Linked DNA regions of Homo sapiens: region 1 is linked to region 2. The links are contacts of gene promoters, found by promoter capture Hi-C in blood cells and fetal thymus (Javierre and others, 2016). All regions are on one chromosome and are shown on one strand. Each heading gives the region's core, a stretch centred on a gene start or on the middle of the fragment in contact. The rest is flanking DNA. Distances are from core to core; before and after follow the strand shown. Region 1 overlaps MIR100HG (mir-100-let-7a-2-mir-125b-1 cluster host gene). Region 2 holds the start of SORL1 (sortilin related receptor 1).

What was found. The method cuts DNA at HindIII sites, captures the fragments that hold promoters and counts their contacts. A CHiCAGO score of 5 or more calls a contact.
Region 1: a fragment that was not itself captured here is called in contact with the fragment with the promoter of SORL1 in region 2 in 1 of 17 cell types (monocytes); the score reaches 5.4 in monocytes.

What each region holds. Positions count from the first base shown.
Region 1 is chr11:122,255,626-122,261,438 of GRCh38, forward strand. The region is part of intron 2 of MIR100HG (mir-100-let-7a-2-mir-125b-1 cluster host gene); the gene reads right to left. Among named protein-coding and RNA genes, the nearest start is that of MIR100, 110 kb to the left of the region's middle. The HindIII fragment of the contact is 5,931 bases long and covers 1-4,427 here.
Region 2 is chr11:121,449,144-121,455,816 of GRCh38, forward strand. SORL1 (sortilin related receptor 1) reads left to right here and starts at 3,171. Exons shown (of 48, transcript NM_003105.6): 1 at 3,171-3,473. The coding sequence starts at 3,189. It overlaps SORL1-AS1 (SORL1 antisense RNA 1), which reads right to left and starts at 3,824. Exons shown (of 3, transcript NR_183636.1): 1 at 3,532-3,824; 2 at 553-756. RefSeq lists enhancers at 2,128-2,187, 3,578-3,767, 3,778-3,827, 3,868-3,937, 3,958-4,007 and silencers at 3,058-3,107, 3,238-3,287, 5,132-5,181. The HindIII fragment of the contact is 8,160 bases long and covers 1-3,927 here.

The DNA of each region.
Region 1 (5,813 bases), core at 212-2,711, 800 kb after region 2:
GTTCTCACTCTTGCTAATAGGTTAGTTCCCATGAGAACAGGTTGTTAAAAAGGGTCTAGCTTCTTCTCCTGCCATGTGATCTCTGCACATACTCTCCCTCCTTCCACTTTCCACCATGAGTTGAAGAAGCATGAGGCTCTCATGAGATGCAGCTGCCCAACCTTGAAATTTCCAGCCACCAGAATCATGAGCCAAATAGATCTCTTTTCTTTATAAATTATAAATGACCCAGCCTCCGGTATTCTGTTATAGCAACATTAAAATGACAAAGACAGCCAGATACTAGGCATCTAAGGACTACCCCTATAGCCCGAAGCCCTCTAGAATTTTATTCAAACTAGCCAGTCCAAAACTGCTTACTCTGCCCTGCCTTGCCTTTCCTTTGGAAACCCCATAAAGAGAGGCTTTGGCTTAGATTCTCCTCTCTCCACTTTCTGCCTTGTGACCAATACTCGTGCTCCCCATGTGCACTTGTGTAGCATGACATGGCCCTTCTCTGGGAATGCAAGGGAGAAAAATGTTCTTTCCATGGCATGAGCTTCCCCATGTCACCACTTGGTAATCTCCATAAATTAAAACCCCGTGGGCACAAATGAGACACATGTCTGCCCTCAGTTTAGTTTGTTATGGTATTAATGTTATTTGATATAGGATAAGTGATATGGTTTGGCTCTGTGTCCCCACCCAAACCTCATCTCAAATTATAATCACCACGTGTCAAGGGAGGAAAGAGATTAGATTATGGGGGTGATTTCCTCCATGCTGTTCTCATGATAGTGAGTGAATTCTCACGAGATCTGATGGTTTTATAAATATGGTCGTTTTTCTTGCACTCATTCTCTCTCTTGCCTGCTACCATGCAAGATGTGCCTTTGCTTCTCCTTCACCTTCCACCATGGCTGTAAGTTTTCTGAGGCTTCCCCAGTCATTCAGAACTGAGAGTCAATTAAAACTCCTTCCTTTATAAATTACCCAGTCTTGGGTATTTCTTTATAACAGTGTGAGAACGGACTAATACAATGAGAGGTAGCAACAAGTAAATTGCCCTCTAAAGACTTAAGCTCCACTCAACCCTGAACTTCTTGATTACAGAAACGGTGTAATTATTTATCTCACTGTGTCTCCTGGACACAGTGCTTGGCACATGTGAAGTTCCAATTAGTTTTCACAGAATAAATACATTGGAAATGGCTAAATTAATATTTTCCATTAGTGTGATGGTGACCATAGATCAATGGTCCAGAATCATCTGAGCACTTGTGCAAAGATGAGATTCTGAAGCCCTACTCGATGCTTTCTGAATCCTAATCTCTCTTTATGAGGCTGAGGGATCTGCCATTTAAACAAACTCCAAGGCAGTTCTTGGTTACATTTTGGTAAGAGAATCTCTGCTTTGCTTTCTTGTCTCAAAAGCATCATTCTTGGCTTTAATGGAACTCTTCAGTCAAGATGAAGCACATAATGATTCTAAAATATGAGGAACTCTTATTCCAAACACTTACTATTCATATGTAGTTTGAGGACCTATATTTTTGATATTCCAAAAACCTATCAACAATGCCAATATGTGGATGACTATTTGGTGCTCAATCCATCTCTGACATCAGATGCATGAAATCAGTTTCTCCTATATCTGTTTTGCCTTCTAATTAATATGAATTGATTGGTTAAGTTTTTCCAATATGGAAACTAACAGACTTTTGAGTCAAATAATATGTGCATGTGTGTGTGTGTGTGTGTGTGTGTGTGTGTGTGCTTGCATACATGTTAACATGTGTTTAAATGCTTTACTTTTGTTTTACTTTATTCAATTCATTCATTAGCTTGCAACCAGTCAAGTGTGACTTCTTAATAGTGTGGGTTATGTATACTCCTTCAATCAACTCTTGGCATCTTATGCCCTCATCTTCTTCTCAGAACACTTGTATGAGACCTCTGCCTGCTTTGGCTACATCTTATAGAAAAGGTTCTCTGAGGGCACTTGTGGATTTTTTTTTTTATTCAGTCATGAGAAAACACATGAAAGTACATTCTAATGAATATTCAGGTCCACATTCCTGAAAAATATGCTCCTCAGGGGCGCCATGGCATAGCTTTGTGAAGGAGCTCTTCTCTAATAACAGTTGATATGAATCAAGGTCTCAGCCAAGCCTTCAGTGAAGTTTTCCATCCAACCTTTTCTCTTAGAATTGACGATTCTGGCACTTCTGTCAACATTGTGCCTACAGCTTCTGTGACATGACTGAAACTCCTCAAGGGCAGTAAGTGATGGCATGTCTTTTTTTCCTTTCATCTCACCTTCTGTCTCTCTCAAAGGCATCAGGAAAAATCTGAGATAAGATGCTTACTTCTACACAGGCGACAATGCAGCCACATGAATAAGTAATTAAGTATAAGTCAGTTTCTCAGACCTCAAAGGGCCAGAATGTTAGAATGGAAGAGGGTGAGAGATACACACTGAGTGTCCCCCTGGCAAATCTGTGGGGCGCTCAGCTTCTCTAAGCCCATCTCTGGGCCCCTGGCAGTTCACATTTTTGTCCTAAAGGGCTGAGCTTCCCCTCTGATGCTGCTAATCATGTCTCTCCTCTGTTTCATGACCGAAATTCTGGCTGCCCTGGAACTCATGGATCTCATTTGCTGATCACCACTATTGTTGGCCTGTTCTCTCTTATGAGTCCCCTAATGCTGCAGTTACATTGATCCTTACAGAGTTTGGACTACATCAAAATTTTCAAGGTACAAGATTGGGATGGAAAAGGAAGAAAAGAGGTAGAAGAAGGGCTCTTCCTTCCCTAGCATTTTGATGGCTTCATGAAGTCCAAACAAAATGGCACTATTCTTTTAAGGCCTTTAATTGTGTCCCTGGTGTGAATAATATTTCATTTGATTTGATTTTTCAGTGACTTTCATGAAATTCTGTCCTTCAAAGAACAACAAATAAAACACTTGCCACTAATTATCTGTGACTGCATCAGACAACAATGTGAATGTGACCACATTTAAGACCAAAGCTCTTTGCTCTCCAACAACCAGAAGCCCTGGACAAGGAGAGTGCAGTGACTATCCCACTTCTAGTTGTCCTACTCCTAGGGCTAGCTATCAAGACTACAGCTCTAGCCTGTCCACTTATTGTTCCTCTTTCTATGAGACCCAGAGGAAATGATAATTTAGCAACCTTCACAGTTAAGCCCACGTGCCCTAGAGCAGCTACCTTCAAATCCTTTGTCATGTAAGACTTAGCCAGATTCTGCCACAGAGATGAAGGTGAACCCCCTCCAGCCATCCAGTAATATTGCCAATTAAATCAGATAAACCAAATTGCATCTAGTAGATATCTCTAACTCAACTGGCTCTAGGGAAATAGTGACTGCCAGCAGGTGGTTCAGAGCAACTCTTTGTAATACTCATTTCCTGTTGCTTAAAGATGTGAAAAAGACCAAGTCTACCAGCTTCTGGTGTTTGACAAACCAAGCTCCTGTTGGATCATATTTGAACAGACAGCTGTATCTGAGTGTGCCAGGGAAAGCCTTCCCAGACAATCAAGTAAGGTCAGCAAAAATTCCCCAGACTAGCTAAGAATTGGTAATCACCTAATCCCATGAAAACATAGTGGCAAGCTATGCGCACTGTTGGCTTTTTTGTACACGTTTGTTCATTTACCCATCACTCATTCACTAGCCAGTCATCCAGCTCTAATATGCACCCATCTCTGTCCTAGGTGCTGGGCACACACTGTCCCGGCCAACGCAAAGCCTACAGGCTAGTGGCCAATAATGACCACGCCTGTATTTTCTCATACATCAATCGGAACCTTTCCTGAAAAAAACTTACAGGATGCAATTCTTACTAATAAAACAAGATTGTCAGCAATGCTTAATTTAATTATTTAATTTTGTAACCGCAAAATAAAGTGGCAGAATAAATGAAGTATTTATACCCTGGATCAAAGTCAAATAGAAGTTCCTGTCTAACCCAGGAATAGATTTCAAGTTGCCTAATGTCTAATCTGGTTTTCTCACTAATCATCACTTCATCCCTTTGCAAGAGAAAACCTATAAAAAGTGTAACAGTCCCATGGCTAGAAAAATATGTAACTTAGATTATGCCTAGAAATAAAACAAACAAGCAAATAAAACCCCAATAAGACACAACCATATAAAAGGCCAATTCTTGCTTTCTGGATAATATCTGAACCAGGCAATGAGAGCAAAAACATCTGAATTCTGAATTAGCTGTCATAAGAGTGTCTTCTTTTTCCCAGTCTTCATCTATTCCCACTGAATATGAGTTCATACATCTTCTTCTGTAGTTAGCCAATGGAAGCCTTCCCATTACTCACTGGCATGTAATTCTTAATAGCTTATTTACTTACTGATTTGGAATGTATCATATTATAAATAACAAAATAGAAGGGAACGGGGGTAAGAAGCTTTTACATTAAGCATGATAAGAGAAGTGCACGTTGATAACGTGGGAAGAAGAAGAACTGGCATTAGGCATACAGCTATTCTCAGGAGTTAATGTTCATAACAATACTGGGTGTTCATCCTGCTGATACCGTCTTGCTTGACTAAAGAAATAACTGAAATCCAAGAGAAATTGAGTTTTAAGAAGATAACAATATCTATGCTACACTTTTGATAGATTTCCATCAACGAATAATTTAGTAACATTCACTTACGCATGAATTTCCAAATAGTACTTTACTCTAGAATGGCAGCTTGTACAGTTTCTCAGACATGTGTTCAACCCATTGATCTTCATAGCAACCCTGTGAGGCACATAGATATTCATTTATTTATTCATTGTTTGTTCATTTGTTTTCACTATTTTTTCATTTGCCTTCTCATTTATTCTGCCAGTCAATAAGTATTTGTTGATTTCTTCCCCATTGTGGGCACTGTGCTACACTATTATCCTGGACTGTCCAGTATGGTAGCCCCAAGCCACATGCGGCTATTGAAATTAATTAAAACTAAATGAGATTTTAAATTCAGTTATTCAATCACACTAGACACATTTTAAGTACTCCAAAACCACTTGTGGTTAAAGGTTACCTTATTAGAGTACAGATACAGAATATTTCCATCACTGCAGAAAATTCTATTGAACAGTACTGCATATTATCATCCATTGACAAATAGAGTCACCAAGACTTGCCAAGGGATGCCAAGCTGATTTACATCTTCTTAAGATTTATTACCTCTGACTTTGGAAAAGTACTATCCTTCTACCTCACACTTACTTATACTTCCAAGTCTCTATATGGGAGATACAGGGGCAAGAGAGATGAGGGAGGATAACACACACTTGTTCCATTCTAGAAGATGCTCAGCCCAGCCACTGTTTCACGCCTACCCGTGGAAGGATATCCTGCAACTTCCCTTCTCCTGTTAGTTATGTTTTGTTCTATCTTCAGCACATCTCATTCACCTACACTGCCTGAGCCAGTTAAGCAAGTGACTGTCTCTCTCCTTTTCTCAGTGATTTCCAAGAACTCCACATCCACAATTACTAACCTACTCTAAGGTACCATTGCTTGCTTTAAAATTCTGTCTATATTGTTGACAACTATGAAAACAATCCAACTCCCTTTCTCTTCTTTGCCTTTACTTCCCTTTTTCAGATGACAGAGCCAAGGTTGGAGAATTCTTCCAAAGAATACCTCAAGGCAACAAAACTGTCATTTCTTACAGAGGAGCTGCCCAATCTTTCACCTTCTGCTGTGCTCACCTATGATGCCAGCCCCCATAACAACAAAATCTTTCTCTTGAAGAAGAGTAATGTAACTTTTCCAGGAATGCTCATGTTTT
Region 2 (6,673 bases), core at 1,921-4,420:
AGGAGGGCAGTTTAAAGTCTGACAACAGGCTTAAGACTGTTTTATACACAGCTGTGAGTCTATCATTACATTTCCGTGCATGTTGATTTTCGTCATGATGCTGGGCAGCATCCGAGCAAGGCCATGCAAGATGGGACAGAGGGGGATATGGTACTGTCTTCCATCCTGCACCCCAACTTTGATGTTACTTCAGAGGGATAGAGGAAGTGGTAGCTTGTTTACAACCCAGAGCTGGTTTTGAAGCTGAGAGGAACACCTCACTCATATTGCACGATTCAGCTCTAACTCCTGTCCTGGGTGACCTTGCCTGTGGCTGCTCCTATCTCACAACCCAGTGGGGGTCCTGAAGGTTTGGGAGTGGTCAGGGCTGAAAGGTGTCTTTTCATTTAACTTATGAAGAAATCGTAAGAGACAAGATGATCAAGACAAAAAATTACATAATAATTTGGTTGCAAAGCCAGGACTAGAATCTATGTTTCTAATGCCACCTGCATGCACTATTTCTCTCTGGAGGCCTTCACACAAATTTGCACAGCTATTTTATATACTTACCTCATCTGATACTCTCAGCAGTCCTGTGAGATTGGTAGGGATTAAGATCTCTATTTTACAGATGAGAAAACTGAAGCTCTGAGGAGGTTTGGCCAAGTCCCCACAGCTAGAAAGTCAACCTTCTGACTCAGAATTCAGCGTGTCTTCCACTGCGTTCTGTAGTTGTGCAGCAGGCACAGTCTTGGGGGGTTGCTGATTATCTACCTGAGAATGGTTTGGAATGTAGATAATGATTAGATAGGAGGGCTTGCAAGGAGTTAATTAACCATGTTTGAATATTCTTACCAATTCTCTAGCATTCAAGTTGCAAATCAACATCAAAATGAGCAAGTAGCTGGCCCTGCCCTACTAGTCCTTCTGTGCAAGGGGCCATCTGAACCTTAAGCCAGCAGTTTGTGTGGGCAAACAGATGCCCATCTTCAAATCCACACTTAGGAGACTCCTGTCTCTGTTTTCTGCTGGGACTCTGACACTTGCTCTTGCAGAGAAGGTTCTCATTAAATATATGTTGGAAAAACCCCAATAATTGAATCATCTACAGGATGTTCTCACTTTAGCCATATTCCCTTCATTTTCCTTTGAGGGCTAAATGGGAGTAGAGATATCTTTGCTGCTGGTCCTGAGAGACCATGGGGTTGTCCATTCCTGGTAAGGTGATGCTGACCAGACAGAGCTGATCTAGATGAGGGGTGGGAGGTGACAGTGGTTCAGTGGCTTTCTTGGAGGATGCATGATTGTTTGAATTATTATTTTTAATTGACATATATAAGTATATAATAAATATATATGTTATATATATGAGTTAGAGCTGAATTGCACAATATGAGCAAGGCGTTCCTCTCAGCTTCAAAACCAGCTCTGGGTTGTAAACAAGCTACCACTTCCTCAATCCCTCTGAAATAACATCAAAGTTGGGGTGCAGGATGAAGGCACCCCAATAATACCACACTGGGGAAAGTGTGGTATTTTGATACCTGTATACAATGTATAATGAACAAAGCAGGGTGGTTAACATAGAGAATGCATGATTTGCTTGGTGGGGAGAACTGGATGGTTCTGTAATTATGTTGAGATGGACAGAAAGACATCATCTGACTTGGGGAGAAAATCGGGTGTGGGAGGAGGTGGGAGAGTGCAGAACCTGAGGCAGAGGTCCCCAGCAAGTCTGGCATGGGGTAGGGTAGGGTGGTTGAATACTGGCTTCAGGGAGATGAGGCAAGCTGGCCTGACTCTGGCAGGTTGTCAGTGGTAGTCCTAGGTAGAGGAGGGGGCTTTGCTAAGCTACCTGAAAAGTACTAGAGTGGGCCGGGGTAGGAATCGGGCTACCGTGGCTTGTCGGAGATGAGGAATGTTTTTAGAAAATTGAACTGACCATCCCTTCCTTCCCCTGAACAGCAGCTTGTATGCAACTATAAAGGTAGTCTCCCTTTCAGCCCTGCTTGCTGTGTCTTTATTCTTATCAAAAACCAGGATCTGAGTTCAGAGGGCAGTGAAACATAAAATGAAATAGGAAAGGTTGCAGTAGTACATAGACTTTGGCTGCTCCCACTAACCTGCAAAAAAAATATTTTCCTTGGGCGTACCTTAGCAGTTCCATGGCAGAAGTTTTATCTCCTGTGGTTCAGAGAGTTTGGCTCGTCAAGCTGAATGTAGGGTTAAAGTGTGTCCTCCCTCCTCTGTGGGTGTTTGCCTAGCTCCTGGCTGTGGGTTGAAGGGACTGGTAAATATGTCTATTTTACTGCTGAGGCAGGGTGGCTCAGTGCTTGGTCACCTTGGAGGGATCATAAGCAAGCCGCCGCTGGGGCCCTGTGCCACGCACAGGTATTCATGCGTGCGTGCAAGCACACCCTGTATAGCTGTGTAATAATTGTCCAGGTGTGGTGCATTCTTTGTCAGATGTACCCTTGTTTTTACTGCCTCTGTGCAGGATGTTTATTTGCTGTGCTTCAGGCTGGGGCACGTAGCTTGATCAAGGGTAGTTTTTGCTGTGGCCCCTGCAAATACGTTGTGGTGCCCAGAGTAGATGAAAAACTGTGAGTTTCCCAATAGAGCGGGTTCATCTGGACTCTTGTTGGTTGCGTTCTAGGAGCTAATTCTGTGGCTCTGGACTCTTCCCTGGAGGTGGGGATGAGGCCGGGGCCGGGGGGAGGTGGTCTTGTGGCGCTACTGCGGGCTGTGCACTCAGGAAAGTGGCCACGGTTTAGGACGACCTCGACACGACCCTGTATAGGACGCAACTAACTCCAGAGAAAACGAGCGAGCCCCATGCAACTCTTCATTCCTGCAGGGAGAACAAGGAGGTGTGCCCGCCAGGGAAGGGACGCACCCCCACCGGCGCTCGCTGCCTTAACTTCCCCATCCCCGCGCCAGGGAGGGGCCGGAGTCGCCGCCGAGGCCGCCGAGCGCAGAAAGTGCGCGAAAGGGACGCGCTGCGAGCCTCACACGTGACGGCGCCGCGCCGAACCGAGCGGGACCTGGCGGCAGCGGCGGCGGGCGCAGCGGGGCGGCCCGGAGCGGCGCGGGCGGCCTGGAGCCCCGGGAGCGGCGCGCGCGGTCCCGGCCCAGCGGCTCTCCTGGCCTCGCGCTGCACATTCTCTCCTGGCGGCGGCGCCACCTGCAGTAGCGTTCGCCCGAACATGGCGACACGGAGCAGCAGGAGGGAGTCGCGACTCCCGTTCCTATTCACCCTGGTCGCACTGCTGCCGCCCGGAGCTCTCTGCGAAGTCTGGACGCAGAGGCTGCACGGCGGCAGCGCGCCCTTGCCCCAGGACCGGGGCTTCCTCGTGGTGCAGGGCGACCCGCGCGAGCTGCGGCTGTGGGCGCGCGGGGATGCCAGGGGGGCGAGCCGCGCGGACGAGAAGCCGCTCCGGAGGAAACGGAGCGCTGCCCTGCAGCCCGAGCCCATCAAGGTGTACGGACAGGTGAGCAGTTTTGCAACCCGCCTCCCTCCAGTTTTTTCCTCTCCCTGCACTTCCTCACCCCCGCATCCATCCGTTGCAGTCGCCTCCTAGGTGCAGGCACCACTGGGGACTTCCCGGCTTGCATTTGTTTTTTTCCTTCACGAGTACAACCGTCAGCACTTGAATCGCATTGATCTTTCCTTCTTCCTGTCGATTTAGTAAACGTATTCCAGGTAACTCGCCGGGTGCAGTGCGTATTACCCCAGGGTGTGTGCAGAGAGATGTAGTTTCCGGCAGGTATAGGAGGGGTGCAGCTTCATTTTACATCTGGATAAAAAACGGGCTTTCTTTAGTGTATCATCAGTTGGCAGTGGAGGCGAGCACCCTGCAGTTGCGGTACACTTACACAGAACAGCACGAGGTGGGGGTTTCCACACTTAGCATTATTAGCACAATAAAAGTGGGCAAACCTGAAAGCTTGTCGACTATCTCTGTACAGTCAGACAAGAGGTGTGTGTATGTGTGTGCGTGTGTAAAGGCTGAATTTTTAATTTTTAATTTTTGGCGAGCGTGTGAGATGCTCTCCATTCCTTCTTCCCCACCCTTCAAGATGCTGACTCTCCCACCCCCGTCAAGATAACTTTATTTTGGAGAGGAATACCCCTCATGGCACTTGGAGATTTGAAAGGACTGCAGGAAATTTGGTGGGCATTATTATTCTATAAGTGATTTATTTCTACCCAGGCAATAGGTTTATTAGATCATAAGTAACGTGAATTTCACTTTTATGGTCAGACTTACTGCGAGGAATTGCAGATGGAGTTTGTAGGTTAGGATCAGCACTGGCAAAATTAATTTGACCGTGTTATTGCCTCATGAGACTCCCAGTCCTGCAGTTAAGATTGACATCAGCAAAAGTATAAGGTCGGTGGGGGAGAAAAAGTAGGACCAGAGGAGGGGGTAAATACACTTGTTTTCTAGAGTCAAATTGTTCCTTTTGAAGTAGAAATTATTAATAAAAGATTACCCTGAGTTCTGCCTTTTCTCACTAATTTCACTTTAGCCATTTCTTCAGGAAATACAGAGTTAAATGTTCAACCCTTGGATCCAGGACGAACCTTGTAAACATATCACCCTATTGTGTCATTTTGTTGGTGAAGAAACTGAAGCGTGGAATGGTGAAGTGACTAGTCCAAGGTCATACCGGGAAGGTGGCCTGCTCTCTAGTTTTTGTCTGCATTGTCTCAGTGACCTTTGCTTGACTGCAGTCACCCTGTCTTTATGCAATGCTGCTGAAATACCTCCTTTCTAAAATAAAATAGATCTGGTATAAAGGGGGAAAGGATGGTGGTGACTGGGTGGGAGCGTTGGATTTCCCTCCACTATTGGTCCCTGGGCAAGAATGTGTGCCCCAGGGCATGTAACTAATGGTGGCCACAGGCTGCAGGAACCTGCATGCTCAGTTCCTCTTGGGCCCAGATCCTTGTCCCCCTGTCCCCACCCCATATGACAAATATGTGTATGAACAAAAAGAAGTCATCAAGGTCCTTGCTCTTAACAGCGACACCAGCATGGGGCTGATGGAGGGTGGGAGAAGGAGGAGGAGTGGCCCACTTCTTCATTGGGCCTCCGCAGTCAGCCCAGCTCTGCTGTGCTCTTGAATCAGCATTCTGGGAACTGGGAGTTGGGGGCTGGTGGGAGACAATCCCTCCCAGTGCTCAGGTCCCCTGAAGCTATAGTTTAGGTTGAGGAAAAAGTTTTCTGGTTTCAAAAATATGTGTACATGTGCCATTTCTTTCTTGGGTTTGGTTTATGAAAAGCTCCAGGGGATGTGGGGCAGGTTGGACATGAACTCTGTTCTCACTGGGAGTGACTCCCAAACCCTGGGCTTTTGAGTTTCTGGGCCAGCCAGATTGAGTTTGGTTCAGCTGAAGGATGGAGAACTAGCAGTCAAACTCATAATGAGGAATTCCTAACCGGAGGGTGAGGGTACAAGGGTGAGATTTTTCTTCTCTGTGGCTGCCTTCCTATGCCATTGTTGCCTCTTGCTCTGAGGTTAATAAGAAGTGGAATTAATTTGAATCTGTAAGGATTTGAGTCAGATAAAAGGAAGAACTTCCCTGTACTGGGCTTTCTGCCACAAGTTCTATCTGGTGCAGACCCTTCAGAATGCAAGCACAGGTTGGTGACTGAAGGGGTTTGAGGTGCCCCTCTTGGAACTCTGGAGTAACTAACATCTATTTGGAATGATCTTTCTAGCAAGGATGACCATTGCCTCTGTGTTTCCCTGGGGCAGACCTGGTTTCTAAGTTGTCTCTGGTGGTTATGAATAGCACCCCCTTCACTCTCAAAAGTGTCAAGATGTGACAATAAATTATATGGTCCTACTTTTAGCCTTAAGCCAAGTTCCACTTTGTAATCACGACTTTCCCCTTCAACGTTTAAACCTAAGGAATGGTGATGTTTTCCAACAGTACTGCTTGACTTGAGTGTGGTTCTATGGAGGTGCAGTGAGCTGGGGAATAAAATTTCATTCCTGCTTTTAGGAAATTTACAATTTAAGGAGGAGAGCAAGCAGATGCAGATACAGGCATGTCAATGTACCAGGATGGGAACCAGGAAACATGGTCACAAGAAACCAGCCACAACTCTACAATGGTGTGATAACGGGCTGTGTGACATGCAGCGCATGGGAGATGGAGAGATAAGGGGTGGTGGGCTCAGACACTGTCCAGCTTCTTGCCCTCTGACCTTTGAGTGAGGTTAAGAGGACACTGGCAGCACAGGTTAGGGCTGGAAGCAGAAGCTGCCTGAAGGAAGCAGGCCTAGAGGCGATGTTAAGGCCACCACCTTCAGGGAGAAGAGAAGGGAAGGCTTTCTAGGGGAATACTTGCATCTGAGAAAGAGCCCTGTGCTGGAGTCAATGTCGGTCCTTTTTCCTCTGCTTCGCTAATGTCTTGGGTAAACTAGGCTTGGTTATTTTGACCATTTTCCTCCTCAGTTTCTCTAAGGTGGGGAGACCGGCTTCTGCCATGATTACTTAAAGGCACATTTATGATACTGAAATGTGATTGTAGGGGTGAAAATAATTTGCTGGCAGATATCAGGACTTTTCTGCCCATGTTCAAGGCTCACGCCTGTAATCCCAGCACTGTGGGAGGCCGAGGCGGGTGGATCACTTGAGGTCAGGAGTTCGAAACCAGCCTGGTCCACATGGGGAA